Regions from separate parts of the Homo sapiens genome. Here region 1 is linked to region 2. Evidence: promoter capture Hi-C in human tissues and cell types (Jung and others, 2019). All regions are on one chromosome and are shown on one strand. The core of a region is centred on a gene start or on the middle of the fragment in contact, and the rest is flanking DNA. Distances in the headings are between cores, read along the strand shown.

What was found. The method cuts DNA at HindIII sites, captures the fragments that hold promoters and counts their contacts. A contact is called where the count stands out against the background at its distance.
Region 1: a fragment that was not itself captured here is called in contact with the fragment with the promoter of SLC46A2 in region 2 in 2 of the 25 tissues and cell types used here (H1 embryonic stem cells and IMR-90 fibroblasts).

Annotation. Positions count from the first base shown.
Region 1 is chr9:113,131,696-113,134,492 of GRCh38, reverse strand. No RefSeq gene overlaps it. Among named protein-coding and RNA genes, the nearest start is that of SLC31A2, 18 kb to the left of the region's middle. RefSeq lists a silencer at 2,370-2,664. The HindIII fragment of the contact is 3,800 bases long and covers 1-2,797 here.
Region 2 is chr9:112,889,367-112,892,227 of GRCh38, reverse strand. It overlaps SLC46A2 (solute carrier family 46 member 2), which reads left to right and starts at 1,352. Exons shown (of 4, transcript NM_033051.4): 1 at 1,352-2,675. The coding sequence starts at 1,547. The HindIII fragment of the contact is 12,966 bases long and covers 1-2,861 here.

The sequences.
Region 1 (2,797 bases), core at 98-2,597, 240 kb before region 2:
TTCAGTCACTGCTTACATCTGACAGTCTTTGAATTCTCTTTTGAAGAGTCTTCTGAAAATGCTGTAGGCTCAAGTGAGACTTTAGGGAGCAGAAGAATACTTCCTAGATTCACTCCTTTAGTTGGAGCTTTTCCTGCATGTGGTGGTGGTGGTGGAAGCTACTTCTTCATCCCTGACCTGTAGGCAGAATAAAGATGTCTGTTTCCTCACACTCAGGGGAGGTGCAATGGAGGGTCATGAAAAGATGGCATCCTAAGATGTGTTCTCTCTCCTTGGCACAGCTAGGTTGGCATGTCCTTGTCAAGTCACTTGGAACCAGCGTGGTAGAGGTCTCTATATTTAAACTGCATCACCAACCTGAAACTGCCATTCCTGGAAGCAACCTCTATCTGGTTCTTCTTGTAAAAGAGCCTCTTGTGAGGGGAAAATGAGGAAGACCCACACTGGCTGCCTCAGACAGGGATCTCCACATGGAAAGTTGCACCAGGAGCTTCTCACCTTCCTCTCCTGAAGGGTGGGCCCACAATCCAGGATGGCTCCTTTCCTTCTGGAACCTGTGTGCCTCCCTGGCCCCCATGAACTCTAAAGCTGGTATTTAAGATATTTAAGAGGAAGACATAATACAAAGGATTATTCCTAATTCTGAAAATTAACTCTTTAAATCCAGTGACTTTATCCACTGTTTTATGGATAAAGTGTGTGTGTGTGTGCCTGTTATCCACTGTTTAGTGGATACAGTGTGTGTGTGTGTGTCTGTTATCCACTGTGTAGCGGATAAAGTGTGTATGTGTGTCTGTTATCCACTGTTTAGTGGATAAAGTGTGTGTGTGTGTGTCTGTTATCCACTGTTTAGTGGATAAAGTGTGTGTGTGTGTGTGTCTGTTATCCACTGTTTAGTGGATAAAGTGTGTGTGTGTGTGTGTGTGTGTTGGGGGTAATCTAGTATGTGTTTACTTTAAAATATTAGGTTCCTATGAATTTTATAGATGTAACAATGAATTTCAGGTACACTTTTTGTAACGGAATAATTTGATTGAGCTGAAGAACCACATTTGTTGCTACTGTTTCATAGTGCCAGATTGTGTTTGTTCAGAGACAGAAGAATATCTAAGTGCATCTGTTTCCTCACAGTCCCAATGCCACTGAGTTGCTTCTTTCCGAAGATTAGGAAAAGTGGCATATTTTATATTTCTTTAACTGCTAGTAAAGGTGTCATTCTTCTCGCCACTTGAAGATCTATAGTCTGTGTTTTGTCTAGCATGCATATTATATATAAATTTGGTATATATTTAAGTAGTAACCTTTTATTTTTTTTTGAGATGAAGTTTCACTCTTGTTGCCCAGGCTGGAGTGCAATAGCGCTAATTTTGTATTTTTAGTAGAGACAGGGTTTCTCCATGTTGGTCAGGCTGGTCTCGAACTCCTAGCCTCAGGTGATCCACCTGCCTCGGCCTCCCAAAGTGCTGGGATTGCAGGCATGAGCCACCATGCCTGACCGAGTAGTCACCTTTTATCATATCAGCTCTTACAACTTTTACCCATTCTGTTCCTTTATTTTATACATTCCATTATATTTTATATTAATAGTCTCACAGAATGTTAGTTGCTAGGAGCATGCTACTCACCAAGTATTTATGGACTGAAGATATGTTGAGTTAGAACAGACAGGTGGCATTGAGGCCATCTAGTTCAGGAGCCTAAACATTCACACATAGAAAATAAGGCTTAGTAGTCCCAGCTACTCAGGATGCTGAGGCAGGAGAATTGCTTGAACCCAGGAGGTGGAGGCTGCAGTGAGCCAAGATTGTGCCACTGCACTCCAACCTGGGTGACAGAGTGAGACTCTGTCTCAAAAAAAAAAAAAAAAAAAAAAGAAAGAAAGAAAGAAAATAAGGCTTGGAACAGTTCAGTGACTTATGACTTAGCCAAGGTTACAATGGTAAATCCAGATCATTAAGCCAGACTTATGTCCAGCAAAGTTCTAATTACCACACCAACTGCCTCAACTCTAAAGCATGGTTTCTGTGTTTGTACTACTGATGTTTTGGTCCAGATTGGCCAGATAATTCTTTGCTGTGGGGAACTGTCCTGTGTGTTGCAGAACGTTTAGCAGCATCCCTGGCCTCTAGCTTCTGGGGGCCACAAGCAAATGCCCCCACCTCTGAATTGTGACAACTAAAAATATCTCCAGACATTGCCAAGTGTTCCCTGGGGGACAAAATTGGCCCTGGTTGAGAACCACTGCTCTAGCAAGAACTAAACATTTCCTATGCATTTGTGGGAGTGATGTGAGTTTCCACAGCAGAAGTTTAGAATGGGAGCCCAGCACTCCTCTCAGGCGGCTGGAGAATATGGTAAAATCCATCATGTTATTGCTGGATGGAGGCAACAGTTCAGACCCTGCAAAGTGACACGGCAGAGAGCCAAGCAGGCTTTCCCAAGATAACAAGAGTTAAGCCTTGGCGAGATCAGTACCAAGGACAGCTCAAGGACACTGGCTTTTCAGACACTTTTAACTAGAGGTCTTTCAAGCACAGGTAGTTTGGATTTGAATATCCTTTCCCCTACTCACCCACTCCACCAGAAACTGTCTGTTCTTTAATGTTTCCATGTGGAGATCCCTGTCTGAGGCAGCCAGTGTGAATCTTCCTCATTTGCCCCTTACAATGGGCTCTTTTATAAGAACCAGAAAGTGATTGCTTCCAGAAATGGCAGTTTCATGCTGATGATGCACTTTCAGAGCTAACCAACGTAAGCTTCACCCCCACAGTATGAGATTACTATTATTATTCTAATG
Region 2 (2,861 bases), core at 103-2,602:
TGAGGGGGAGGAAGAAGGAAATGGGCTGCTGGGCCAGATCCATGGGGCACATCTTGAAGGGCAAGACTAGGTGTGTCTTTCTCTTTGCAGAAGGCAGAGTCGTCTGGGCCTAGACACGAGGAGGCTGGGCCATGCTGGAGGTTGAGGGTGGCAGGGGAGGAGATTATAGCCCACCTAAACACTACCAAAAGAGCACATAGATACACTAAATCATTTGGAATCCAGTCCCTACTCCCTACATGAGTATATTATCCATGTGGCATTTTAAGCTCTCCCTGCATACCTGCGTCTCCCTTTCATGTCTTTGGGTTCCTGATCATCCACGCTGCCAGAGCTATAGTGGATTGTGGGTAGAGGGACAGGAAGGCTGTGTGCTTTGAGTCTCCATCCCTGGGGCTGACCATGGAACAGGTCATGCTCTGTGGTACATTTTGGCCCCTGCACCATCCATCACCCTGGTTTTCTTTGCAGAAGTATGTACCTAAACAAGAAGCGAGGCCACCTGGGAAGTGGAGGTCTCAGCCCAGCCCAGGGGAGTGAGCCCACAGACAGAAGAAGAGTGACTACTAACAAGCAGAAAGGGACCTGGGCACTTGATTCAGATGAGGACCCTGGTGACTCTGCCCCTTCCAGTGGGCTCAAGCCCCTGCCCAAGAGTCCAGTTTTATCATCTAGGGGGACATCTAGGGCTGGCAGGATCTTGCCGTCTCTCCCTTGGCCCTGGGGTTTGGGGCAGGAGCCTTCTAGACAAGGCCCAGGCACTAGGCCCACCAATGCAGGTGTACCAAACAGGACTCTTCTCTAAGAGGCCTTTGGCTTGGAGAAGAGCCTGGACCTGGCGGCTCCCAAGTTTTTACTTCTCTCAAAGTGCTACCCAGCTGCCTATAGCACATGGGCCCCTGTTGCATTAAATCTATAAATAAAACTTCACACCCCAATACTTATCCTAGGCAGAATCCTAGGCGTCCCACCCCTCGCGCAAACCTGCCTTCCTGGGATGGGAGAATTTGGAAACGCTCCCTGAGCCAGTCCTGGGGAGCTTCCTTCCAGCCCCTGCCCCGGTGGTGGGGGGTCCGCAGAGATCCGCGGGAGGTCCGGGCACGCACGCCTGGCTGTGGGGAAATTCGGCCCCGTCAGGCGGCCGCGCTCACAGGAGCAGCGTGACCCGTCGGCCCCGGGGGTGCTGGCGCCAGGAGCCAGCACTCGCGGTGCGCTCCCCCGCGCCTGGCTTCCCTGGACTGTCGCCAGTCCTACTCTGCCTGAGGTGGCGAGGGCAGGGTGGAGCGCGGCCTTTTCTGGCCTGAGGAGGAGTCACTCGGGAGGTCACTCGGCTGCTGGGCGGGCTGCTGTCACAGGCGCTGCGTGCCCTGGCTCTGCTCGCCACTGGCCGGCGCGCTCCCGGCGCACGGAGCACACTCGCGCTCCCGGCGCACGGAGCACACTCGCGCTCCGGGACTGAAACCTGAGCAGCCGTAGCAGCCGAATTTGGGAGCATATCCTTGTCACTGCAGCCAGAAAGCCCTTCGATCCCCATCAGAGAGGTCACATGAGCCCCGAGGTCACCTGCCCGCGGAGGGGCCACCTGCCTCGCTTCCACCCGAGGACCTGGGTTGAGCCCGTGGTGGCCTCGTCCCAGGTGGCTGCCTCCCTCTACGATGCGGGGCTACTCCTCGTGGTGAAGGCGTCCTACGGAACCGGAGGCTCCTCCAACCACAGTGCCAGCCCATCGCCCCGGGGGGCTCTAGAGGACCAACAGCAGAGAGCCATCTCCAATTTCTACATTATCTACAACCTTGTGGTGGGCCTGTCCCCCCTGCTGTCCGCCTACGGGCTGGGATGGCTCAGCGACCGCTACCACCGAAAGATCTCCATCTGCATGTCGCTGCTGGGCTTCCTGCTCTCCCGCCTCGGGCTGCTGCTCAAGGTGCTGCTGGACTGGCCAGTGGAGGTGCTGTACGGGGCGGCGGCGCTGAACGGGCTATTCGGCGGCTTCTCCGCCTTCTGGTCCGGGGTCATGGCGCTGGGATCGCTGGGCTCCTCCGAGGGCCGCCGCTCTGTGCGCCTCATCCTCATTGACCTGATGCTGGGCTTGGCGGGGTTCTGCGGGAGCATGGCTTCCGGGCATCTCTTCAAGCAGATGGCTGGGCACTCTGGGCAGGGCCTGATACTGACGGCCTGCAGCGTGAGCTGTGCCTCGTTTGCCCTGCTCTACAGCCTTTTGGTGCTAAAGGTCCCTGAGTCGGTGGCCAAACCCAGCCAGGAGCTCCCCGCCGTGGATACCGTGTCTGGCACGGTTGGCACATACCGCACTCTGGATCCTGATCAGTTGGACCAACAGTATGCAGTGGGGCACCCTCCATCTCCTGGAAAAGCAAAACCCCATAAAACCACCATTGCCTTGCTCTTTGTGGGTGCTATCATATATGACCTGGCGGTGGTGGGCACAGTGGACGTGATCCCTCTTTTTGTGCTGAGGGAGCCTCTCGGTTGGAACCAAGTGCAGGTGGGCTATGGTATGGCTGCAGGGTACACCATCTTCATCACCAGCTTCCTGGGTGTCCTGGTCTTCTCCCGCTGCTTTCGGGACACCACCATGATCATGATTGGGATGGTCTCCTTTGGGTCAGGAGCCCTCCTCTTGGCTTTTGTGAAAGAGACATACATGTTCTATATTGGTGAGTCTGTCATTCTTGAGGAGGCAGGACATTGCTAGCCCTCTGCATCATGGGGCTGACACCAGGGATGCCATGGTCTGGGTGTCCTAGCTCAGCACCAGGGATTGAACCTGCTACCTAGGAGGCACAAGGGACACAAGATTATATGCCCCTGAGTTTATCTGTAATGTATTGTTAATTAATTAT